4 separate regions of the Homo sapiens genome follow, and regions 1, 3 and 4 are each linked to region 2. The links are contacts of gene promoters, found by promoter capture Hi-C in blood cells and fetal thymus (Javierre and others, 2016). All regions are on one chromosome and are shown on one strand. Each heading gives the region's core, a stretch centred on a gene start or on the middle of the fragment in contact. The rest is flanking DNA. Distances are from core to core; before and after follow the strand shown.

Evidence for each region. The method cuts DNA at HindIII sites, captures the fragments that hold promoters and counts their contacts. A CHiCAGO score of 5 or more calls a contact.
Region 1: a contact is called between a fragment that was not itself captured here and the fragment with the promoter of ATF7 in region 2, in 1 of 17 cell types (M1 macrophages). The highest score is 5.1, in M1 macrophages.
Region 3: a contact is called between a fragment that was not itself captured here and the fragment with the promoter of ATF7 in region 2, in 1 of 17 cell types (neutrophils). The highest score is 7.0, in neutrophils.
Region 4: a contact is called between a fragment that was not itself captured here and the fragment with the promoter of ATF7 in region 2, in 1 of 17 cell types (neutrophils). The highest score is 5.5, in neutrophils.

The regions. Positions count from the first base shown.
Region 1 is chr12:54,247,948-54,251,088 of GRCh38, forward strand. The region is part of intron 3 of CBX5 (chromobox 5); the gene reads right to left. Among named protein-coding and RNA genes, the nearest start is that of SCAT2, 13 kb to the right of the region's middle. RefSeq lists a silencer at 1,059-1,258. The HindIII fragment of the contact is 5,143 bases long and covers 1-3,141 here.
Region 2 is chr12:53,624,974-53,627,965 of GRCh38, forward strand. It overlaps ATF7 (activating transcription factor 7), which reads right to left and starts at 1,409. Exons shown (of 12, transcript NM_006856.3): 1 at 1,306-1,409. It overlaps ATF7-NPFF (ATF7-NPFF readthrough), which reads right to left and starts at 1,409. Exons shown (of 15, transcript NR_159377.1): 1 at 1,306-1,409. RefSeq lists an enhancer at 1,266-1,335. The HindIII fragment of the contact is 3,816 bases long and covers 1-2,187 here.
Region 3 is chr12:53,069,157-53,072,433 of GRCh38, forward strand. The region is part of intron 6 of SPRYD3 (SPRY domain containing 3); the gene reads right to left. Among named protein-coding and RNA genes, the nearest start is that of SPRYD3, 8.6 kb to the right of the region's middle. RefSeq lists enhancers at 2,726-3,226, 3,109-3,277, 3,227-3,277. The HindIII fragment of the contact is 3,345 bases long and covers 189-3,277 here.
Region 4 is chr12:54,192,029-54,195,026 of GRCh38, forward strand. The region is part of intron 2 of LOC105369777 (a long non-coding RNA gene); the gene reads left to right. Among named protein-coding and RNA genes, the nearest start is that of SMUG1, 4.5 kb to the left of the region's middle. The HindIII fragment of the contact is 8,187 bases long and covers 1-2,998 here.

The DNA of each region.
Region 1 (3,141 bases), core at 265-2,764, 620 kb after region 2:
CTCCTGCCTTAGCCTCCTGAGTAGTTGGGATTACAGGTGCGTGCCACCGCACCTGGCTAATTTTTCCATTTTTAGTAGAGACAGGGGTCTCACCATTTTGGCCAGGCTGGTCTCAAACTCCTAGCCTCAGGTGATCCACCCTGCCTCGGCCTCCCAAAGTGCTGAGATTACAGATGTGAGCCATCACACCCGGCTACGCCTGGCTAATTTTTTGTATTTTTAGTCGAGACAGGGTTTCACCATGTTGACCACACTGGTCTTGAACTCCTGGCCTCAAGTGATCCACACGCCTCAGCCTCCCAAAGTGCTGGGATTACAGGCGTGAGCCACCGCACCCGGCCCAAACTAGGTAATTTGAAAAAACTTTATTATGGAAGATAATGCTAGCCTCTCTAGTGGCAACACACACACAAAAAAAAGATTTAGAGATGCCCAAATGAACTAAATCTCTACTGCCCGATTTTCATAATAAAATCTCTTTGATCTTATGTTCACCTGCTTTCCTCTGAGACATACAAAGCATTTGGGGTCCGGGTGGTCCCCAAAGATACCAAAATTCACAATTGGAAGGACATTCCACGCGTGGATCAATGAGAGATACTGACTTTTAAAAACATAGCCTCTTTTGGGGGTGCTTAAGGGGAAGAAGTTCCCAGATGTGCACACAGCTGCTCACAGCTGGAATGCTGGTGCATGGACTAAGTTGTAAATCATAACTGGCAACTGAAAACAGTTTGCTACATAGGGAGGGAAGAGGAGGCGAATGGAAGAAAAACGTTCAAGCTGCTGAAAAGGAGCCAGGGCGAAGAAAATGCTAAAATCATCATACAGGCAGTAATCTTAAATCAGGCATAATGCAAACTAACAAATTTCTTCTCCAGTGGTCTTAAGAAATAAACACAATCCCCTCCTATACCTTTAAAACATACAATCACCTATCTTTCCAGCTGTCTACCTGACAGCAGCCAGTACTGCTAAGAATGCTATCAGGGGTCCCAGATGAACATTATGATGTAAGGGACATGTGGGGGTTGTTTTCAAGGTCGGCAGCTTCAGAACCTGGCCTAGGAACAAAACTCTGTGCACTGGCCAGTGGCTCCAAGCCAGATTATTCAGACTGCTCCTTTTTAAAAATGACAGAGGCCAGGTGTGGTGGCTCATGCCTGTAATCACAGCACTTTGAGAGGCCAAGATGGGCGGATAACGAGGTCAGGAGATTGAGACCATTCTGGCTAACACGGTGAAACCCCATCTCTACTAAAAATACAAAAAATTAGCCAGGCATGGTGGCATGTGCCTGTAGTCCCAGCTACTAGGGAGGGTGAAGCAGGAGAATCGCTTGAACCCAGGAGGCAGAGGTTGCAGTGAGATTGTGCCACTGCACTCCAGCCTGGGCAACAGAGTGAGACTATGTCTCAAAAAAAAAAGAAAAAAAAAAAATTCTAATTTTACTGGTCTGGGGTGCATCTTAGGCACTGGAGATTTTTTTTTTTTTTTAACGTACCCCCCAGGTGATTATAATGTGTAGCATTGAGAACTAATGCTCTAGAAAGGTATAAATCTAATTAGAATGAAGATACATAGGGATGATTGTGGCAGCTACTCTGGAAGGCTGGAAGATTCCGAAGTAGACTTACGCTTTTATGAAATGTAAAGTGTATGATACATCCTTCACCACAAAAGGCTTCATAACCTTGAAATAAATAAAAGGAATGGAAGCTGGGGGCGGGAGGAGGTGGTAGAGTGTGTGTATTTATGCGCCCACACACAGATGAAAAGAGAGAGAGGCAATAACAGTGCTTATGCTACTTACTTGAGAGCTAAAGATCAGAAGGATTAAAGCAACTAAATCAAACCAAAATTTCATAAATACACTTCCCAAACTGAAGAAGATTCAAAAGACAAAAATTAATTTTGTACGCCAAGTATGTAGAAATAATAGATCAAGAGAATATAAATGCCACTGAACTGTACATTTTAAAATTGTTAATTGAGCCAGGCATGGTGGCTCACACCTGTAATCCCAACACTTTGGGAGGCCAAGGCAGGTGGATCACCTGAGTTAGGGAGTTCAAGACCACCCTGACCAACATGGAGAAACACCCTCTCTACTAAAAATACAAAATTAGCTGGGCATGGTGGTGCATGTCTGTAATCCCAACTACTCTGGAAGGCTGAGGCAGAAGAATCACTTGAACCCAGGAGATGGAGGGTGCAGTGAGCCAAGATCATGCCATTGAACTCCAGCCTGGGCAACAAGAGTGAAACTCCGTCTCAAAAAAATAAATAAAAAATAAAAATAAAAATACAAAAATTATCTGGCTATGGTGGCACATGCCTGTAATCCCAACTACTCAGAAGGCTGAAACAGGAGAATCACTTGAACCCAGGAGGTGAGGGTGCAGTAAGCCGAGATCACGCCCATGCACTCCAGCCTGAGTGACAGAACAAGACTCTGTCTCAAAATAAATAAATAAATAAAATATTTAATTGTATATTATATGATTTTCACTGCAAAAAAAAGATTATCAAGGATTGAAAACAAATGCTATCACTGGAACAAAAGAAAGGGCCGGGGCCGGGCGCGGTGGCTCACGCCTGTAATCCCAGCACTTTGGGAGGCCGAGGCGGGTGGATCATGAGGTCAGGAGATCGAGACCATCCTGGCTAACAAGGTGAAACCCCGTCTCTACTAAAAATACAAAAAATTAGCCGGGCGCGGTGGCGGGCGCCTGTAGTCCCAGCTACTCGGGAGGCTGAGGCAGGAGAATGGCGTGAACCCGGGAGGCAGAGCTTGCAGTGAGCCGAGATTGCGCCACTGCAGTCCGCAGTCCGGCCTGTGCGACAGAGCGAGACTCCGTCTCAAAAAAAAAAAAAAAAAAAAAAAAAAAAAAAAAGAAAGGGCCGGGCGCGGTGGCTCACGCCTGTAATCCCAACACTTTGGGAGGCCAAGGTGGATGGATCACAAGGTAAGGGGTTTGAGACCAGCCCGGCCAACATGGTGAAACCCCGTCTCTACTAAAGATACAAAAAATTAGCTGGGCATGGTGGCGTGTGCCTGTAATCCCAGCTACTTGGGAGGCTGAGGCAGGAGAACTGCTTGAACACAGGAGGTGGAAGTTCCAGTGAGCCAAGATCGCA
Region 2 (2,992 bases), core at 159-2,658:
ATTTTTAAACACAGGACTCATGTGAGCTTGCTGAGAAAACTCTGCACACCCCCTACACACCTGTACTTAATATGACATGACCCTCAGAGATACTAAAACACCCTCTGTTAAGCAGAAAACAAACTTTTAAAGTTAGGAAAGTAGCAACGCGGGAATCTGGGTAGGAGGTGCCCTGGGTTGTAAACACCCCAGTCAGAGAACATAACAAGCAATTCAGAGCAACATATTAAGTCCCTATGGGGCTCCAACTTGGACTGCTTAAGTCCCAAGACCACATCCTGGTGTCTGGGAAGAGTTTGGGTAATAGAAGAGAGGGAGAAGGAAAATCAGAGAAGCGATGAAAGCGTTCTATTTTTCTCCTTCTCAACCCCCATCCCAGCATCTTGGAGGCTGGTCACCAGTCTGGGTGCCATATCCACCAGAAGCCCTAAATCAATATCCCAACCACCTGATACCTAGGCTAAAGACATGTGTATATCAGCCATCTCCTTCCCAAACACCTCTTATCGCTCTCAAGGCTCATATCCTTCCAGAAGCCATGCCTTATGGCGACTCAGCTCACCCATACTGTCCTCTTAAATTAATTCACTTAATTTTCTCCAAATCCATACTTTCTCTCTGATATCATGTCCCTGATGTTCTTTTAATTAATTCAATCAAAATGCCATGACCCTCATTTCCAATAATCCACCCCATCTATCTTTTCTGCCAAACCCAACGGGGTGTTGTGTCACCAGATCAAGATCTTTGTTCTCATCTACTCATTCCTACCTCCTTCCTATTACCCTTTTCCAATTCCAAGCTCCTAATCCCACTCTTTGGGAAGCCCTGGGTTTCTAACTTAGTTTAGTATCCCTCCTCTTTCTCCCATTCCACCCCATCCCATGATCCTTCCATTAGGCTCCACTAGACTACCCTTCCCTCAGGATTCAATTCCCCTCTCCTTGCCACGCCCTGTGCCCCCCGGGGCTACTTACACCAAGTTCTCCCCACACTTCAAGCCTCTGGCCCCGCCTTCCCCCCAAAGGAAGGAGGCGGGAGTAGGGAGAGAAGGGCGGCGCTCGGCAACGTAAAAGCGATCTCCCATTAGCGCTCATCGCCGCCAATCGAGGCTTCCTTCTCTCCCATTGGTCGGCTTTGGCCTATGCCCCACCCTCTTCCTCAGACAGGGCCCGGCCACCGCCTCAGCGCCCCCGTCCAACACAGACTGGGAGGGGAGACCCCAGCCTGGAACGCTGGGACTGGCCAGAGTTGAAAGGGAGACTCCCGTCAGATCATGGACTAGCTAATGTTAAAAGGACTTACCGGCTGGTAGCTCCGTTGCCTCCCGCCTGCCCGCGCTCGGTCCTACAATCTGTCTCCAGCTCCTCCTTTCCCCCCTTGGCGGAACGGATACTTTCCTCCCGTCCGGCCAGGCGCGCTCAACTCTCGCGAGAAGTCATGGGTCCGCGGGGGAAGGGCGAGATCCGTGGGGGCTGAGTTGGAAAGCGGCCGAGAGGCGGGGGCTCCGGGAAAAGAAGGGGCCGGGCTTACTGTGGGCAGGGCTGGGGAGGGAGACTGAGCGAGTACTGTCCACACAGGTCACACGTGTTCGGCTGCAGAATCTAGCGGGAGAAAGAAAGGAAAAAGGAGAGAGGATCTTTACAGGTGCCTGTAGTGGTGGTTACTACTATCTTTCAGAGTCATCGCTTCCTTAACGGCAAAGTAATTTAAAATACCCTTAGCGCTAGAAATGAAGTCCATGTACGGACAAAGCAATCCACCCGCACAGCAATTCTAACACTACCATTTTACTAGCCCTATTGCCTTGGGTGAAAACCTTCTCTGAGTCTCTGTACAATGGGACTAACAATCTCATTTTATTCAAATAGTTGTAATGATCAAATGAGATACATGAAACTGCTTGGGGATTTTTTAAAATCACTATATTATTCAGCAAATATTTTCACAAAACGTAGGGCATACTACATGCAAAGCATTGTTCTGCAGTCGAATGCTCTATCCCTGAGCTATACCCCCCGTGCAAAGCATTGTTCTAAGCATGGGGTTAAGGAGTTACCAACCCAGGTAGAATTTATATTTGAGTGAGGAAGGGGAGACAGTTAAAAAGCCAATAAACACAAATATTTCAAATAGTGAAAAGCGCTTCAGGATAGTGAGACAGAAGGTGACTAGGAGTGGGGAAGAAGCTTTACTCCTAGTGTTTGAGAGAAGACCTCTTTGAGGAAGTAACACACCAGGAGTTGAATTATGACCTGGGAAGATTTCGGGGGAAATATCAAATGCAAAGTCTATAGTCTTACATTTATATGTCTTGTTCAAGACAAACCAGGAAAAGAAAAAAGAAAAACAAAAAACAGGCTGGGTGCAGTGGCTCACGTCTGTAATCCCAACACTGCTAGGCCGAGGCAAGAGGATCGCCTGAGCCCAGGAATTTGAGACCAGCCTGGGCAACATGGCGAAAACTCAGCTCTACGAAAAAATATAAAATTAGCCGGGCATGGTGGCCTGCACCTGTAGTAGCTATTCGGGGGGCTAAGTGGGAAGATCGCTTGAGCCCAGGAGGTTGAGGTGGCAGTGAGCCCACATCAGGCCACTGCACTCCAGCCTGGACAACAGAGTGAAACCCTGTCTCGATAAATAAATAAAATAAATAATTTTCTTAAAATTTAACGAATTGTAGTTGACTTAAAATATTATCTATGGAATCTCTGTTCTCTCCTTTTGCAGCTTTATGTTACTCAGCTTTCTGAACTTTCTGTCTAGCATCTCATCTATCCTCACAGCACCCTCTGAGAGGTAGGAAGAATCTGGGTGATTTCTCCCTAGATACCTAAAATGAAACAGATGTAAAATCTTTCTTTCTTATGTAGTGAATTGAGAAAAGTTGAGAGGAGTCTTGGCTTCCAAACTATTCTCCCCTAAAACAATTCCTACTTAAAAGAATACAGTGATGGAAACATACCTTAAATATATAAGAAAAATTTGTATG
Region 3 (3,277 bases), core at 611-3,110, 560 kb before region 2:
TTGTCATGGTAATAGTGGGGTGATGACTCAACCCCATCCCCTCTTTCCCCCACCTTCGGCCTCACCTGGGATTCCTTAATCTCCTTTTAATTAGCCCAACTGCCCCTCACGACTTTCTTCTACCCTCCCACCCCTGCAGCCCTGAAGGAAACATGTTGCCTAGGGACCTCCTCCACGTCTCCCTGGCAAGCTTTGGGACGCCGGCCTCTCACCTCTCACAGATTCCTGCCTGAACAGGAAAGGAATTATGCCCACCTGCACCAGCACAGAAGCCTGTGCGTGTCTCCAGCAGAGGCTGCTCCCGCATCCCCACTCCCAGCCTCAGACGGCCGCTGCTTAGCTCAGGTGCTTAGAGCGGGGTGCTACTAACCCCTTCTGAGAGTAGGACTAGAGGGGCTTGGTGCCTTTCTCAGCCCTGGATCTCAGCCCCGCCACCTCAAGTCCATCCTTCCCTCCTCTCCAAAGATAACTGGGGATGGATGAGGGGGAAAGCAGCATGCACGGGAGACCACCTAAGCCCATCCCCAAGGCCACACTGTTTGACTTCTGTTCATGGTGTATTCTCTGCTCAGCCTGGGTTCCTCCTCTGCCTCTCTCCCCGGGAAGCCAGGAGGGGTGTGGCTTGATCCACATTAACTAGTTTAGACTCCACCCAGGCAGAGCAGCCCCCAGCCCACCCTCTCCACCCAGCATTGCAGAACTGGGTGGGGGACCCCACAGCTGCCTTTGACCCATTCTATCCAACTGGCCTCGGTGTAGGAAACACAGTGTTCTCCATTTCCAGAGCCAAAAGACAGCCGATCCAGACCCTGATCCTTGGGAAATACCCGGCCAGCCCCTCCCTTTGCCTCAGCTCAGAAGAGGGTAGCTGCTGCATTTCTGTCTCTGGATAGGGTGGAGGTGCTTTCTCACGCTAAAAGCCAGGACGGACTACCCCAACATGGGTCTTTAAAACCCACTCTCTACCTGCCAACCACAGAGCACTTCGGACAGAATGCTGATGTCCTGGACGACTAGGTACTTGTACAGTGTATAGGTGAGGCTTGTACAGCGTGCCCTCTTCAGAGGGGACCGCCCAGCCCTCACAGTGAAAGCCATCATAAACCTCCTGATCCACTCTCCTGCTCCTGGACAAAGCTCCCCCGACCCCTCCTGAGCCTTCCCAGAGAACTCAGAGGGGTGGAAGTGGGGGGAATATTTGGCCTCCCTGACAGATTCTTTCTTGAGTACATTCCTCTGCCTCCTTGGTCTATAGCTGTTAGGAACCTAGAGGAGGAGTGAAGGTTAACCCTTAGAGTCTGAACTGTTAGGATCTTGATGCTGGTCCCTCAACCTGTACCTCAGAATCCAACAGACCTGGGTTCAAATCCTAACTCCTATTACTTAACAGCCGCTAACCTCAGGCAAATGACATTCACCTCCTTAAGCCTTGGTTTCTTCAACAGTAAACTGGGATAAGATTACCTGAATTTCCAAAAACAAGTGGGAAGACTTAATGAAGTGACCAATACACATTGCTGCCTCTCCCTAAATCAGTGTAAATGGGGTTACGTTGGAATTGCCGATCACAAAGAAGGAAATGATCTTTCATCTTAGCCCTTACTTCCAACTACAATGGTCCCTTAGGCCAACCAGGACGATGGCCACTCCCCAGACAACTCTACCCTATGTGTCTCCTCTCAAACAATGTCCAATCAACAGAAATGTTTCTCTGCATTTTTGGTGGGGGAAGATGGAGCCCTTTCTTTGGGTCTCCCCCTAATACACACATACCACCAAAGCCCCAAGAAGCCAAAGACATGACTCAGTGCCACAGAGTGGCGGCTGCAGACCAGAGTGTGGACAGTCTCGTGCACTCCACACCCTCCCTCTACCAGTAGCACCTTCCCAGCCTCTTCTCCCCTGCCGGTATCCGCCCTCCTCCCCTTGCCAGCAGAGACCCTAATCCCTCTTGACAGGAGCAAGGAAGGGCTCAGTGCCCTGAGGGCCCAGAAGCAACTGAAACAGGAACCAAGTACACACTCTCCTGGCCAGCTCAGGCTCCAGCACAGCCTCCCTCTGGGCTGGGTCTGGGGAGGACCCCTGGGAGGGCGGGGCCTCATTCACCACCCTGTGTGTACCAAAGCTGTTGCCCCTGTCACTAAGGAGTTGTCAGAGGAGCTGTGAACAGGGCACAAACACAGAATGAGTCTAATCCCCCAGCTGTTACCTACCGCCCCCAGCTCCCCTCCACCACATTACCTCACTTTGCGAGGCCTGGAGGCAGGGATGAGGTGAGAGGCAAGTGCCCCAGCAATTCCTCAACCCCTCAGAGCTCTGAGGAGGTAGACTCTTTAGGAGGGGGAAACAGGCCACAGGAGGCAGGGGAAGAATTCCACTCAAGAAAGAGCCAGGTCTGTCTATATCCAAAGACTCAAATCTAACAACTGTTGAGGCCCAGGGCAGTGGCTCATGCCTCTAATCCCAGCAATTTGGGAGGCCAAGGTGGGAGGATCCCTTGAGCCTGGGAGTTGGAGGCTGAAGTGAACCAGCACTCCAGTCTGGGTGACAGAGTGATAGCCTGTCTTAAAAAAAAAAAAAAAAAAAAAAGGAAAGTTGGCATGACTGGAAAAAGGCACATGTCCCTCAGGAAGCTCACATCCAAGTTGGCCCCAGAGGAACGGGTGCCCCAGGAGTAGTGCTCCCACCCTGCCACCTGGCCCAAGCTGGGGTGAGGGTCTGAGAGAAGGGCCCAATTCAACAGCTTATGTCTAAAAAAGAAAAACACTCTTAAATAAGTGGCTGAAGGTGTTGGGGGGAGGGTGGGGAGGAAGGAAGGCTATTTATAAATGTCTACAGGATTCTGCATCAATTAGAAAAGATTGCCTGGGAGGAGCTGAGAGCAGAGTGGGGACAGGTCCAGGCAGAGAAAGGATGCCAGGAAAAAACTCTTGAGGAGAGGTCAGAGATGAGAGCTGGAACATCGCCCTGGCGCAGCCCCAAGTTTAACTCTGTAGATGTTGTCAGAATGATGGTAGATTGAGGGGAAAAAGGAAAGACATGAGAGTCACGGAGTGGGCATCTGAGGCCTCTTAGCTCTCGGTCGCTGCAGCCTGGGACCCTGATGCCAGACGGGGGTGCAGAGTGTCAGAAGCAGCAGGAGGGCACACTTCCTGTCATTTTCCCTGAGTTCCACTCCACCAGGGGGAGGCCTGGCTCCTAATCCGCTCCCACCCCCCACTGCTTCTGTTTTGTTATCAAAGACTGAGTTGAAAACAGCCTGGGTTGGGGTGGAAAG
Region 4 (2,998 bases), core at 112-2,611, 570 kb after region 2:
CTACACTGGGTCCTGTCCCGATTAGCCCAACAAACATCAAAAGAGCATAGGACAGTGAAGACAGCATAGCAGAGGCCTCAGGACTTTGGGCTCTGGAATCAGACTGCTGCGTTTGAATCCAAGCTCTGCCACTTACTCATGGTGACCTTGGGCATGCTACTTAATTTCTCTGTGCCTCAGTTATCTCAGTTGTAAAATGGGATAATCATTGTAATCTCTATCTTCTTTTGTGATGTTTAAATGACTTAATTACATTAAGTGCTTATTACAGAATTTGGGCTCCACAAAGGGTAGTTATTGCTGTTGCTCTGCCAGGGTCTCAGGCAGATGATAGTCTGAGTACCCAAGACCCAGTCCATGAAGCCCTATCAGACACACAAGCACGGAGGACAAGACTGGGGAGCTCATCCTGTAGATTTCCCAAAGACAGTGACCTGCATGCAGGGTTAGGTTTGGAGTTGGAAGTTCAGGATTGCAAGGAAAGTAACTCTTCAGGTCTCCAAGGTCAGCAGAAGTTGGGATAAGGAGGTCACAGCAAGAAAGAACCTGAAGTAAAGATGTAGGAAGGAAATGCATTAAGGAAGAAGCATTAACAGGCCCTTTAAAGGGCCCTGATTTGGGGAAGGGAAAAGGGCTCCTTGATGTGTGAGTTAAGCAAGGGCCACTGCATCCCAAGGACATGTCCTTGGCACAGATGCAAAAGTCTCCAGACTTGATCAGATTCCCCATGCCTCCCCATTCCATCTGTGGGGACTTAACACTCCATGTCTTTTCCTCAGCCTAGTGAGGAGGGGCACTTACAAAGAGAGAAAGCTATCTGCAGGGCCCACAACCAGAGGAGCTAGGCTGTGAGTTCATCCATTTGTGTCCTTTTTTTTTTTTTTTTTTTTTTTTTGAGACAGGGTCTCACTCTGGAATGCAGTGGCATGATCATGACTCACTGCACTCTCGACCTCCTAGGCTCAAGCAGTCCTCCCGCCTCAGCCTCTCCAGTAGCTGGGACTACAGGTGCGCACCACCACACCCAGCTAATTTAAAAATTTTTTTTGTAGAGACAGGGTCTTGCTATGTTGCTCAAGCTGGTCTTGAACTGCTGGGCTCAAGTGATCTTCCCACCTCGGCCTCCCAAAATGTTGGGATTATGGGTGTAAGCCACCGCACCTGCCTGATTTGTTTCTCAACAGGTTCAGCCATCTCGCTGTCTCTGTATCTTCTATATCTCTGCCTTCATCTACCTTACAAGAAATGGGATTATTCTCCAAGGGGTGAGAATAAGGTGACAAAGTGACACCCTCTCAGTTAAGACAGAAATGCAGAGCCAGTGGGGTCCCTGGCTCAGCCTCGCTACCCTGCTACGCACACCTCAGCCCCAAGGCAGCACAACCTAGCTTTATGGATTATGCCTACTTAACTGGAGGAAGATGACAGCGTCTAGGTCTCCTCAACTCTGGTGTCCTCCATCTCCTGGGGCCTGGACGCCTGGGTCCCCAAGAGAGGAGCAGGAATAGGCTGGATGGGCTGATTTGCATCACTTACTTGGGAAGCAATTATCGGAGGAGCTGTCAGCTCAGTGCAGCTCTCTCCTCACTAATCGGATTTCACCAGAGCCCGGGGCTTGGGGGGGCCGAGTAATTTGGCTTGATGCAGTGGTGGGAGATGTCAGGGCCAGGAGGCCGGACAATCTGTCTGAGTGGTGTTAGAGTTGTCCAGAGCAATTATCCTGAGGGACCACACAGACATCAGATAGACAGACAGACAAGGGAATGGGACTGATCCCCAAGTCCTTTAGCAGGAAGGATGGAAGTGAGACTTGGAGAATGGGAGGAGCATCTCCCACAGGTTGAACCAAATTGAGCAACTAGAAGAGGATCAAGATGAGTCTGAGAGAGTGGCCATGGGACCAAGTGGGAGGACGACCCAAGAATCCTAGCTTCCAGCCTACTCAACACCGAGGCCCAGCCCTGCCTTGCCCTGCACTCCCAGGGAACCAGTCACAGAGCAGGAACTTGAACCTAGGGTGATTCTTCTGAGCTCTGCTCCTTCCCCTGCAATGTTCCCAAAAGACAATTTCCTTGCCTCTGGCCCTGGCTCTGTCATTTGCCTTCTCTTGCTCCTGCAGCCCTCTTGAACCTGTCCTTTCCTTCCCACCCATACTGCCCCTCTCATCTCTCTGGTGATCCCTCTCTCTGTCTCTGTCCTCCATTCCACATCTTTCAGAATAGTGGTAAGGGTGATAGTGACAATAACTAACCGTTAGTGAGTGCTTTGTCCACACCAGACACCACCCTGAGTGCTTTATGTGGATTGTTTCCTTTACTCCTCTCAGCAACACTTTGAGGGACATACTTTTTTTTTTCTTTTTTGAGACAGAGTTTTGCTCTGTCACCCAGGCTGGAGTGCAGTGGCACAATGTCGGCTCACTGCAACCTCCGCCTCCCAGGTTCAAGGGATTCTCCTGCCTCAGCCTCCTGAGTAGCTGGGATTACAGGCACCTGCCACCACGCCCGGCTAATTTTTATATTTTTAGAAGAGACAGGGTTTCACTATGTTGGCCAGGCTGGTCTTGAACTCCTGACCTCAGGTGATCTGCCTGCCTCAGCCTCCCAAAGTGCTGGGATTACAGGCGCAAGTAAGCCACCATGCCCAGCCTTTTTTTTTTGAGACAAAGTCTCACTGTGTTGCCCAGGCTGGAGGGAAGTGGCACAATCTTAGCTCACTGCAACCTTCACCTCCCAGACTCAAGCAATCCTCCCACCTCAGCCTCCCAAGTAGCTGGGACTACAGATGTGCACCACCACACCCTGCTAATTTTTAAATTTTTCTGTGGAGATGGGGGTCTCACTATATTGCCCAGGCTGGTCTCAAACTCCGGAGCTCAAGTGATCCTTCCACCTCAGCTTCCCAAAGTGCTGAAATTACAGGCATGAGCCACCATGTCCAGCTCAAGGATGTTCTGATAGCAGGTTGAAAAGAGCACTGAACTTTCAAGGACATTTGG